Regions from separate parts of the Homo sapiens genome. Here region 1 is linked to region 2. Evidence: promoter capture Hi-C in 16 types of primary human blood cells and fetal thymus (Javierre and others, 2016). All regions are on one chromosome and are shown on one strand. The core of a region is centred on a gene start or on the middle of the fragment in contact, and the rest is flanking DNA. Distances in the headings are between cores, read along the strand shown.

Region 1 (6,454 bases), core at 1,474-3,973, 1.1 Mb after region 2:
AAGACCCTGAAACAGTCGTCCCAGTGGTGATGCTAAGCAGGAATTGGGTGGACGAGCAAGGGGGATCCTGTTTCCGCTTACAACAAATCCTGTCCCTCCTCTGCTCCAAACCCTCCAACGGCCTCCGGATTCACCATATTTAAAGACAGAGACCATACAATGATCTCCAGGGCCCTAAAGATCTGGCCCCAGCTGCCACTCAGGGCTCACCTTCTCCCCCTTTCCTGCTCATCCACTCTGCTCCAGCCACACCAGCTTCCTTGCAGCTCCCTGAACACACCTGCCAGACCCCATCTTAGAGCCAAGATTGTGTCCCTCAGTTCTCTGCTGAAATGCCTCTTCTCCATGAAGCCTTCTCCCACCCCTCTGTATAAAACAGCAAATCTACCCTGGGCCTCCCTATCCCTTTCCTCCATAATCCTTAATACTGCCTGCATTCTATGGGATTTACTTAATGCATTTTACTGTGTGGTATGGGTTGAACTGTAACCCTCTAAAAAGATACAATGAAGTTCTAACCCCCAGTACCTCAGAATTTGCCCTTATTTGGAAATGGGGTCTTTACAGAGGTGATCAAGCTGAGATGAGGTCATCAGGGTGGGTCCTAATCCAAAACGACTGAAGTTGTTATAAAAAGGAGAAATGGGGACACAAAGACAAACACAGGCTGAGGGAAGACAATGTGAAGATACAGGGAGGACATCCTGTGAAGATGAAGGCAGAGATTGAGGTGATGCCTCTCCAGGCCGAGGAACACCAAAGCTGGCCACCATCTGCCAGAACACAGGGGAGAGGCCTGGCTCACAGCCTCAGAAGGATCCAGCCCTGCCAACACCCTGATCTTAGACTTCTGGCCTCCAAGACTGGGAGACCACCAATTTCTGTTGTTTTCAGCCACCCAGTGTGTGGTACTTTGTTACAGCAGCCCTAGCAAGCTCATACACTGTCACCCGCAATAAAGTAAGCTTCATGAGGGCAGGAACCACCTAAACCGTTTCCCTAGTCCAGACTTACAACAAAGCCCACTCATGACAGGCACAGAGTAAATACTTGTTGAATGAGGCAAAGCAGCACATGGTCCTGATAGCTGTTTTGGGACAAGGGAAGGAGCTCATGAAGGATGGAACCCATACTAAGTGAGGTTCAAGATGGGGACAATAAACTGAGTCCCAGTCACACCTGCAGATCATGACAGCCCTACCTCTGGACTTTTGGTTATATAATTAATAGTCTCCTGACTGCGTAAGTCAATTTCTGGTACTTATAACAGAAACTGTTGCTGTCTATATCCTGTCAAGAGTAGCAGCCAAGCAGGAGCCAGATCAAAGAGGACCTTTGAGGGGCTTCCTTTCCTCACACTCCCAGACTGCGCTGGACAAGGCCCCTGTCACAGTGATGAAGGAGGTGGGAAGACGGGGCAGACTAGATCCTTGAGGCACTGGGGAGCCACAGGAAAGTGACAAGGTCAGAGCACATATTTGGCAATCATTTACCCTGTGTGCTAGACCACATTGTGGGCACTGGGGACATGGACGTGTGTCAGACCTGTTTCCTGGCCTCATGGAGCTCATGGTCTGACGGAGAGACACGAGGGAGGTAGGACTGTGGCAAAGGGAGGTATCGGGGACTGTGTGGGCCAAGGGGGAGAGGGAGGCCATTGCCTTGAGGTCAGGGAAAGCTTCCTGGAGGGAAGGTCATTCAAGTTGGATCACTAAGGATGAACAGATATTTACCAGATAGAGAGATGGTTTCATGCATCATTCATTGATTCATTCATTCATTCAACTAACACCTCATGAGGCTTCCTGTGTTCCTGGCCTGTGCTGGGCCCTGGGGACCCAGAGATGAATCCCCATCAGTTCCTGTCCCCAAGGAGCATCTAGTCTGGTGGGGCTGACAGATATGGGCAGGAACATCCATATCTAGGTGGATCTGTGCTACAGTGGAGGCAGCAGGGGGTACTATGGAAGGCTAGAGCAGGAAAGTGCTGACTGCCTAGGGAAGGGTGGGGGAACTGAGCCGGGTCTTAAAGGCTGTGTGAGACACTACCACATGGAAAAGGGGCAGGGAATTCCAGCAGAGGGCCCAACCTGAGCAAAGGAAGCTGCTGGAAAGTACAGAATCAACTTTTACTACTAGGCCAAAGGGAGTATTTGTTATCTAGAGAAATGACAGAAGATGGTGCAAAGAGGGTAGAAGCCAGAACACACAGGAAGGCTGAAAAACCTGGAATTTATTCTATAAGCAATAGGGGTTCCCAGAAGAGTACAAACAGGAAAGAACAGCATGCGAGCTTTCCTTTAAAAAAGATCGCCTGGGAGCCACCATGGGACAGGGAGGCCAAAACAAAGGAAGGCCAGCTTTCCTGCCATGGGGGTGACCAATCAACACAGAGCGACCTTCAACTCGCCTCGGCCACAAAGGAAGGCCAATTTTTCTGCCTTTGGGTGTGACCGATTAGGACAGAGCGACCTTCAACTCACCTCAGCCATGGCCAACTGGGGTTCAGTAGCCTCTTTTAAGCTCCTCCTCCTTCCCCTCCGTGTTCCCGGCTGGCAGGGCTGTGGGAAGCACAAGGGAGCTGTGAGAAAGCCTCCCTTCCACCCATGGCTGACTCGCTGTCCATGCTGACGAGCCCCCAAAATGTCCAGGAGGAGGAGGACAAGTCCCAATGTGAGTCTCCCTGCAGGGGACAACAACAACTATATTTACTGAAGCCACCTCAGCCCCACATTTGCACTGTGCTTCAGAACCTACAGAACAGCTTCGCCACCAACAATGGTGGGTTAGCACCTAACAGTCAGTCAGCACATGTTTAGGAGATTTGGTGATGAAAGTCTATGGCCACAGTGGGAGCTTCTGTCTTGCTCACTGCTGTGTCTTAGCACCAGCATGGTGCCTAGTACGCAGTAGGTGCTTTAACAGTAGGTGTAAAAGTACCTACAGTTGTTGACAGAACGAAGGTGTCTAAAGAACCAATGGAACAATGCTTCTGGGATTTCTGATTATCATCTCTGGAATTTGAGTTCAGGTAAATTGGCCTCCGAAACTGTTACTCTTTTTTGGAGACACGGTCTTGCTCTGTTGCCAGGCTGGAGTACTACAGTGGCACAATCATGGGCCACTGCAGCTGTAATTTCCTGGGCTTAAGCAATCCTCCAACCTCAGCCTCTCAAGCAGCTGGGACTACAAGCATGTGCCACCACATCCAGCTAATCTTTTTCACTTTTTGTAGGGACAGGATCTCACTTGTTGCCCAAGTTGTTCTCAAACTCCTGACCTCAAGTAAGCCGCCCTCGTGGGCCACCCAAAGTGCTGGGATTACAGTTGTGAGCCACCGCACCTGGCCACTATCTCTACAACAGAAATATTTCAACTTTTGTTTTAACCGTGACCCACAGTAACACCACCAATATGTAGAATAGGCCAGGCACAGTAGCTCACGCCTGTAATCTCAGTACTTTGGGAGGCCGAGGTGGGCAGATTACTTGAGGTCAGGAGTTCAAGACCAGCCTGGCCAATATGCTGAAACCCCGTCTGTACTAAGAATACAAAAATTAGCTGGGCTTGGTGGGACGTGCCTGTGATCCCAGCTACTCGGAAGGCTGAGGCAAAGAATCACTTGAACCCGGGAGGCAGAGGCTGCAGTGAACCGAGATGGTGCCACCGCACTCCAGCCTGGGCAACACAGTGAGACTCCATCTCAAAAAAGAAAAAAAAAAAGTATCATGACTACTCAAACACACAGTGTAACTAAACAAAAGCTTCATGAAGCAATACTTACCCTGCAATGTAAGATGCACTGGGATGTTTTCTATTCTAGTCTCTTTTATTCTACTTCATTAAAAAATCATAGTCACTGCCCACCTAGTTATTTTCATGACCCATAATACGCAAAACTGTACCACAGACATTTTTACCCATTTGTATCCACTGCGTGGACCAAGTAGCACATATCTGCGGAGTGCTGAAAGCATTTCATATCACAAAGCAGCACGGATCACTTAACAATGACACAGGTCCACAAATTCTTCAAACTCCAAGGCCAGATGTGCTTTGAAATTCAACTTTTATTTTCAAAAGGTGATATGGCATATACATGGCATATTTCATTAAAATCCCAGTGCAGGGCTGGCCGCAGTGGCTCATGCCTGTAATCCCAGCACTTTGGGAGGCCAAGGCAGGCGGATCACGAGGTCAGGAGATCCAGACCATCCTGGCTAACGCGGTGAAACCCCGTCTCTACTAAAAATACAATAACAAAATTAGCCAGGCATGGTGGTGGGCGCCTGTAGTCCCAGTTACTCAGGAGGCTGAGGCGAGAGAATGGTGTGAACCCGGGAGGTGGAGCTTGCAGTGAGCCGAGATGGCGCCATGCACTCCAGCCTGGGCGACAGAGCGAGACTCCGTCTCAAAAACAAAAACAAAAACAAAACAAAACAAAGTCCCAGCGCAGTGTGGATCAGGCTGCATTTCATAATTGAACACTTTACCCTAGAGAAAAGTATCATCGTTCATTCTAGGTAGAATAATTTAAAGTTATATTTAAAAAATACCCTGTAGTAGTTCAGGTAAGGCACGGACACTAAATTTATGAAAAAAAATTTGTTGTTCTGAGTTGTCCAGATTTTTGAGACTACAAATATGGGAATATGGTAGACCTACAATAAATGCTAATTCTACTGAACAATGAGTTTTTCTACATGTCAGAGGTTAAGCCTCAACCTACGAGTATAACTCAGTTGACAGATATTTGGCCCATAATGTTTGTTGGCAGACAGAATGTTTTGAAAGAAAATTCAAGCATGGCTCACTAGTCTCAAACTTGAAAATTGGGAAATTTCACCTAAAAATTATGTTTCCAACTTCTGAAACATCCTAGGATTTGGCAACATTGGGTCTACATCCCACGAAGTTAGTTCACTGGTGCCCATTTAAAGCTCCCCCACCAGTGCTAGGCAAGTGGGGGATGCTTATAATCCCAGCACTTTGGGAGGCTGAAAGGTGTTCGAGACCAGCCTGGGCAACGTAACAAGACCTTGTTTCTAAAAAAAAAAAATTAAAAATGAGCAAGTTGTGGTGGCACGTGCCTGTAGTCCCAACTACTTGGGAGACTGAGGTAGGAGGATCGCTTGGGAGGCTGAGGTAGGAGGATCACTTGAGCCCAGGAGTTCAAGGCTGCAGTGAGCTATGATTGTGTCACTGTACTCCAGCCTGAATGACAGAGAAAGATCCTGCCTCCAAAAAAAAATTAAATTTGTTTTTTTTTTTTTTTTTGAGACGGAGTCTCGTTCTGTCGCCCAGGCTGGAGTGCAGTGGCGCGATCTCAGCTCGCTGCAAGCTCTGCCTCCCGGGCTCATGCCATTCTCCTGCCTCAGCCTCCTGAGTAGCTGGGACTACAAGCGCCTGCCACCACGCCCGGAGAATTTTTTGTATTTTTAGTAGAGACGGAGTTTCACCGTGTTAGCCAGGATGGTCTCGATCTCCTGACCTCGTGATCCACCCACCTCGGCCTTCCAAAGTGCTGGGATTACAGGCATGAGCCACCACACCCGGCCAAAAAAATTAAATTTAAGTTTAAAAAGCGGCTGGGTGCAGTGGCTCATGCCTGCCATCCCAGCACTTTGGGAGGCCAAGGCAGGCGGATCACCTGAAGTTTGGAGTCCAAGACCAGCCTGATCAACATGGTGAAACCCCCGTATCTACCAAAAATACAGAAATTAGCCAGGCATGGTGGTGCACGCCTGTAATTCCAGCTGCTTGGGAGGCTGAGGCAGGAGAATCGCTTCAACCGGGGAGGTGGAGGTTCCAGTGAGACCGAACTCCAGCCTGGGTGACAGAGCGAGACTCTGTCATCAAAAAAAAAACACAATTCTCCCCTTCAGATGAGGCAAGTGCTCCCCAAGGCCCCGCAGCCTCACCTGGACCAGTTCTCTTCTTTCCTGTATGTCATCTGCCTGGCCCTCACAGACAGCTGAGCTTGAGATCCCTGTCTGCAGTTACCAAATCACATTCTGCCCACATCTCATATACTCTCAGCTCTGGGAGGAAAGAAACGAGGGCCCAGAGGTGGAGCCCAAGGTCATCCAGCCCAGAGTGACTTAAGCCAAACAATTATCAGGCTGAGAGACCTTGGGCCCAAGAGTCTTGCCCTTCCTTCCAGACCATTTACCTTCTCTAAGCCTTAGTTTCCACATGTACCAAATGGAACAAATACAACAGATCTATGGTCCTTTAAATGCTCCAAAAACCAGAACTTGATTTATAAACTGACCGCAAAACTTCACCTGGATTGCCACAGGCCATGTAGGGTCTTAATGTTCTCATAAGTGTGAATATTCACACCTTGCCCCACAGAAACATTTTATGACCAAAAACTGGCCCAGATTCCTCGGGGTGTGGGGGGGTGCTGCCTAATTATAAAATATGCACCCTATTAGCTTTCTAAAATCTG
Region 2 (6,807 bases), core at 2,588-5,087:
GAGGCCGAGGTAGGCAGATCACTTGAGGTCAGGAGTTCAAGACCAGCCTGGCTAACACAGTGAAACTGTGTCTCTACTAAAAATAAAAAAATTAGTTGGGCATGGTGGTAGACACCTGTAATCCCAGCTACTCCGGAGGCTGAAGCACGAGAATTGCTTGAAGCTGGAAGGCGAAGATTGCAATGAGCTGAGATCATGCCACTGCACTCCAGCTGTGGTGACAGAGTGAGACTCCATCTCAAAAAAAATAAATAAATAAATGAATAATTTAAAAAAAAGGATGAGCTGAGCCAAGGCAGGGCCACAAGGATGAAGGGAATGGTCTGAGAAACTTTCAAGAAGCAAAACTGGCAAGTTTCACTGAACAATGGGGAGCAGTGGGTGAGAAAAAGAGTCAGCGAAGTGATTCAGGATCCTCACCTAGAGGCTGAAGCATGCCAGTGCCACCACCAGGGGCTAACTGTGCAGGTCCGAGTCTCGGGATGCAGTGGAGATATGCAGGAAAGTGGGGAGGCATCAGGGCAGAGACGGAAGTTGCGGGAGTGGCAGGAGTGGATGAGCTCACCTGGGGAGTTTGCAGAGAAATGACAGCGCTGTGGAGTACAAGGCTCCTGGCAAGTTGATTGACATGGTTTGGCCAGAAAGAGGACCAGGGAGGGTAGATTTTGTGGTCAGGGCAAAGAGACTCAGAAGTAGGTAGAGCCCAGGTTAGACCTTTATTTGTCAATAAAGAGGCCACTGGTGTTGATCGGGAGACTGTGTTAGGGGAGACAGGAAAGAAACCAGACAGCAGAGGGCTGGGAGTGAGAGGGCTTCTCATGGCTGACCTCACCTCTTTTCCCATCTATCTCTGGAGCCCCAAATATCCCACTCTTATCCTGGTCCCACAGAGGAGAATGGGGAAACTCTATACACCCCGATTCAGCATGCACTCCCACATTGTTGCAGGACAGAGGCTGCCTCTGAGGAGGAGAACTAGACAGTGGGTGGGTGGGGGGAGACGACAGGGAGACTTCACTGTAGAGTCTATGCACTGTTTCCATTTTATAGCATTTAAGTGCATAACCTGATTAGATAACATAAATTGCATTCAAACAAAAGGCACCCTGTGCTTTCTTGCCACAAGATCTTTCTTTGCTCAGGCGATTTCTTCTGTATTAAAAGGCCATTTCGACCCTCAAATTCTCAACCTCCTTTGCCACACTTCACACCTCTTCCAGGAGCAAGCACAGCTTGGAGACTAAGGAGACAGGCTTTGAGCAAGGAGCTACAAACCAGAGACCACCAGCCAAATCGGGCCTGCTGCCTGTTTTTACATGGCCCACAAGCTACAAATGATTTTACATCTTTAAATGGTGTAAAATCTTCAAAATTCTTCAAAAGAAGAATATTTCCTGACACATGCAAATTACATGAAATTCAAATGTCAGTGTCCATCAATAAAGTTTTATTGGTATACAGCCACCCTCACTTGCTTATCTTATATCAATGGCTGCTTTCAACATACAACAGCAGAGTTGCCACAAAGACCCTGTGGCCCACAAAGCCTAAAATATTGGCTACCTGGCCCTTTACAGGAAAGGTTTGCAACCCCTGCTGTAGAGTCAGGCAGTCCAGGGAAGTGACATCACTGAGCTTCAAGATCCTCACCTAAGTAGAATTACAAGGCTGGGCATGCTGACTCACACCTGTAATCCCAGCACTTTGGGATCACTTGAGGTCAGGAGTTTGAGACCAGCCTGGCCACTATGGTGAAACACCGTCTCTACTGAAAATACTAACATTAGCCAGGTGTGGTAGCGCACCTGTAATTCCAGCTACCCAGCAGGCTGAAGCAGGAGAATCACTTGAATCCAGAAGGTGGAGGTTGCAGTGAGCCGAGATCGCGCCACTGCACTCCAGCCTGGGTGACATAGTGAGACTCCATCTCAAAAAAAAAAAAAAAAAAAGAAGAAGAAGAATTACAGTTGTACCCAACTCATATGTAACATATAATCTTAATGTTATGAGAATTGAGATGAGAATAATAACCACTTGTTGAGCACATACTATGTGCCAGAAGCTGTTCTAAATTCTTTAGAGGTGTTGTTAATTCAATTTGACTTCGCATAAATCCTATGAGGCAGGCTATTATTGCCCCCCTTTCACAGATGAACAAACTGAGATGATGCATGGCACATAGCAGCCTTTGTTGAATTTTTTTTTTTTCTGACACCCTGGCTGGCAGTGATTGAAATTGAGCTTTCAAGGCTCTTAACACTTCCATGTCAAGCTTTATCACTCCATATTGACTAAGTCCCTGTCTCCCCCACCAGGAGGACAGGGTGGTGGTGTAAGGGGTGGGGGATGCTCAGAGGACAGTAACCAAGTCTGATTCATTTGTGTCACCTAAACCTAGCCCAGGGGCAGCCTGGCACAAGGAGACCTCAGGAAATAAATTCAACAAATGAACCAACGCACACAGATGAACAGAACTGGCCCATGATAAGGCTTAAGAGTGACCTCACGGAGCTCATTTAATATGAAAGGAAGGCATCATGGTTTCCTGTTATGGGGGAAAAAAATGGGCTACAGGGTGCATGGGGTTCCTTCTCACGTCATCACCGGCCGTAGACCTACACATCCTGGGGCTCTCTGCACATCTCCACATCTCAGTCTAAGGCTCTGGTGGTCCCTTAATCTAGAGGATTTTTTTTTTTTTTTTGAGACAGAGTCTCACTCTGTGGCCAGGCTGGAGTGCAGTGGCGCGATCTCGGCTCACTGCAACCTCTGCCTTCTGGGTTCAAGCCATTCTCCTGCCTCAGCCTCCCGAGTAGCTGGGACTACAGGCGCGCACCACTACGCCCAGCTAATTTTTGTATTTTTAGTAGAGATGAGGTTTCACCATGTTGGCCAGGATGGTCTCCATCTTTTGACCTCGTGATCCACCCGCCTCGGCCTCCCAAAGTGCTGGGATTACAGGTGTAAGCCACCGCGCCGTCTAGAGGAATTTTGAGCCTCAGTTTTTTCGAGGACCTAGGTTTGGGGACCTGGATCTCAAGGGTCTCAGATATCTGAGTCCTTAAACTCCTTGTGCCCCGGTATTTGAGTCACCGGGGTCTTCAAGACCCTTGGGCCTTGTGGGGAGGGTGGAGGCCTCCAGATCCCTGTGTCTAGGGTGCAGACGGTTGTCTCCAGGTCTACTGGTTCTCTCAGGTGCTTTGGTGCCAGGGGTCTGCGTTTTTAACCCCCTTAGTCTCAAGGGTCTGAGTCTCTGAGCCTCTGGGCTCCTGGGTTAGGTGAGAAGGGTCTTTGGATCCTTCTGTTTAGAGTCTGGGTCTCCAGCACGCGCATCACGACAGCCCCCGCGTGCGCGCGGAGTTCCACTCCAATCCTCGAAGTCTGCTCTACGCATGCGCTATCTGCGCCTTTTACACTAGCGACCAACCCCTGCAGTTCCACCTTCAATTCCCACCCGCAACCCCGCCTCAAAGGGCAGAAATCATAGGCCCTGTAATCCCCTTAAAATCCTATAATAATCCCACAAAATCAGTTAATCAGAATACAACTACTTCGCCCATCCAGCAACCTGCCGGGTGACAGCGCGCTGCCATGACAACAGTACACGCAGCTCCGCCGCTCCCTGCGGCCGCGCGCAGGCGCAGAAAGTAAACGCGGGGGGAGGGGGAGCAGTGTATTTTGGGAGCGGCAGAAAGAGCAATGCAAGTGTTTCTGGGAGTTGTAGGCCAAGCGGGACCCCGGAGCCGTAGGCGCATCCAGCGGAAGTGTCGCATGGGCTTCTGGGAGTTCTAGGCAAGAAAGCCCCAAGACCTTATGGGAGTGGTAGTCTCGGAGTCACTTCCGGGCCAGGCTTCCGCGTGGTGGGCAGTGTGGGCATCCCAGCACTGAGTTCTGCCCGGGTGAGTATTTCCTCCTGCGGTGGGTCGGCATGTGGACTCCGGCTCTTTGTTGCGGTGCCGTGGGAGGGTTGAGGGTCTCTTCGAGCGTAAGGCCTCTGTGATTTCCCAGCGCCCGTGTCCCTGAGGCCTTGTAGCCAGGATTCCCACTTTGAACGCTGCGGTCCGGCCTGTCTCTTACCGGGCCACTCCCTTCCCCAAGACAGGATAAGACCATCTGCTTGCCCCCGCCCCTATGTTACTATCTGCCTGTCCCCGCCCCCATGCCACACATTATCTGTCCTTTTGACAAGGCTGCAATCCAGAGGCATCCCTGGGGTCCGCGGCCTCTCTTCTGGGAGCACTTATTATTCCCTCATCCTACAGATACTTACTGAGCACCGACTCTGCGCAGGGCGGCGGGAGCGAGGGCACCAGACCAACCCTGTCCCTGCCTTGAAGCAGAGAGACAGACCTGTCACCAGTGACAGCTAGTCAGGATCAGGGCAGCTCTGAGGGCCCTGGTGGAGGCGCTCGACTCAGTGACGAGGGTCCATAAAGTCTTTGAGGGAAGACGCTTAACATGCATGTCAAACCTGACGTGGCCAAATGGAATTCCTGGTCTTCTCACCTCACAAAATGGCCCCACCGTCCCTCCAATGCTCAGGCCAGAACCTCAAAGTTACCCTTCATCACTTTCTCTCGTCGTTGCCCCAGTCCCCACTCCAATCAGTCTTATACAAGTCCTGTGGGCTCCACCTTCAAAATAGATCCAAAATTTCACTTCTTCCCACCTCTACTGCCAGCACTCCTGTCTAGTGTGCTGACCTCCAGCCTTCTGTCCTTGTCCCTGACAACCAACAGTCCTCCCCACACAGCAGCCAAACGAATCCCACTTTTTTTATTTGAGACAAGGTCTCACTCTATCACCCACGCTGGAGTGCACTGGTGCGATCATGGCTCACTGCAGCCTTGACCTCCTGGGCTCAAGTGATCCTCCTGCCTTGGCTTCCTGAGTAGCTGGTACTACAGGCCTGTGCCACCAGGTGCAGCTAATTTATTTATTTATTTTTTTAGAGATGGGGTCTCGCTATGTTGACCAGTCTAGGAATCCTTTTAAAACATGCCAGATCATACCACTTTACTGTTCAAAAACCTCCCAAGGCTCCCATCTCCTCCTGAATAAACCTAAAATTCCACATCATGGCCTATGAGGCTCTGCTAACTTGTGCAGCCTTGTCCCCTGCGAGCGTCTCCCTTCCTCAGGACGTGGACCCCCCAGGACTGGGTGACTGTAGATTTAGGGGGTGAGGAGAGATGAGTCCAGGGTGACGTTACGTCCTGTCCTGCAGATGGGCTGGATGAAAGGTGGTGGCTGCTCTCAGAAGAGAGGGAACAGATGGGCAAGAACAGGTTTCTGCCTTTCGAGGAAGAAATAGGTTGTCTGGGCGCTTAGGGTCTGAACATCTTTAAGGTGCCCCAGCCATGTGGAGGACCAGCCAGGAGGGACATCTGAATATCATGATTCAGAGGCGCTCATAAGAATGGAAAGAAGCTGGGCACAGTGGCTTACGCCTGTAATCCCAGCACTTTGGGAGGCCGAGGCGGGCGGATCACTTGAGGTCAGGAGTTCAAGACCAGCCTGGCCAACATGGTGAAACCGCATCTCTACTAAAAATACAAAAAAAAAAAAAAAAATTAGCCAGGCATGGTGGTACACGCCTGTAGTCCCAGTTACTCGGGTGGCTAAGGCAGGAGAAACGCTTGACCCTGGGAGGCAGAGGTTACAGTGAGCCGAGATTGTGCCACTGCATTCCACCTGGGTAACAGAGCCAGACTCCATCTCAAAAAATTAAATTAAATTAAATTAAAAATCTTTAAAAAATGGAAAGAGATGGGTGCTAGGCAGGACCTGAGGACATGAAGAGGCGTCCCCAAAAGAGAATTGAGCAGGAAATCCAGGAGCACAGAAGGAGTGAGTCAAAAGTCGGGGGAAGAAAGATTCCAAGAGTTGCTGCTCACCTGTGACAGATGTTCCCGACGGTCACTGCAGATGAGTCCTAAGGGCTGCTTCTTGGGCTCAGTGGCAGGAAGAGTACTCAGGGCAGAGGGGAGAGCCAGTGCAAACATCTGGAGCAGGAGTATTCCTCAGGTGTCAGAGTAAACGACATCAAGGCTGAAGGAGAGGAGGTTGGAGAAACAAGGAGCCACACATGTAGGGCCTCATCGGCCATTAGCAGTTATTATACTAAAGTGAGATGGGATCCAGGGGAGGATGCTGAGAAGATTCAGGGCATGATCCCACTGGCTGTTATGTGAAGGAGTGTTTGTAGAGGAGGCAAGGCGGGAGCAGGAGACCTGTGGGGAGCCCCATGCAGCCGTCCAGGAGAGAGACAGACCAGACTAGGGTGCTGCCGTGGAGACGGTCCTAAGTGTTTGGCTGTTTTGAAACTACATTCAAACAGGATTTGCTAAATTTCATTTAGGTACCTGGAGTTTGAAAAGGTCCGGACTTGGCATTGCAGTTTGGTGCCACCCACTGGGAGCATGACAAGTGCAGTGAGAGAAAGAGCAGTCCAGGGTCCTGGACCCCAAAGCTCCTGGCCTGAGCAGCTAGAAGGATGGAGCTGCCCTGTACTCCAGGAGAAGCACGCTGGGTTAGAAGAATCAGGAATTTGGGTTTTGAGATGCCTATTAGACATCTGAGTGGTACTGGTCTCTGCCCTCATAGAAGTTAGAGATGGTAAATATATAGTCACATAAAATAATTCCACACATTGTGGTAAATCCTAGAAGCAGCGTGACCTGCTCTGAATGGCAAGGAGGTGACTACAGTAGTCCAGGCTGGAGGTGATGGTGGCTTGGGGAGGAGAACTGAGCCTGGGGAGTTTTTATGGGTTCACCAGGCAGGCAGGACCAGGATTTGACTGGA

What was found. The method cuts DNA at HindIII sites, captures the fragments that hold promoters and counts their contacts. A CHiCAGO score of 5 or more calls a contact.
Region 1: a contact is called between a fragment that was not itself captured here and the fragment with the promoter of CTU1 in region 2, in 1 of 17 cell types (naive CD4 T cells). The highest score is 5.2, in naive CD4 T cells.

What each region holds. Positions count from the first base shown.
Region 1 is chr19:50,027,121-50,033,574 of GRCh38, reverse strand. ZNF473 (zinc finger protein 473) reads right to left here. Exons shown (of 5, transcript NM_015428.4): 2 at 2,484-2,683. The coding sequence starts at 2,492. Among named protein-coding and RNA genes, the nearest start is that of ZNF473, 4.3 kb to the right of the region's middle. The HindIII fragment of the contact is 2,086 bases long and covers 1,681-3,766 here.
Region 2 is chr19:51,105,439-51,112,245 of GRCh38, reverse strand. CTU1 (cytosolic thiouridylase subunit 1) reads left to right here and starts at 3,837. Exons shown (of 3, transcript NM_145232.4): 1 at 3,837-3,899. RefSeq lists an enhancer at 3,542-3,871. The HindIII fragment of the contact is 4,633 bases long and covers 2,275-6,807 here.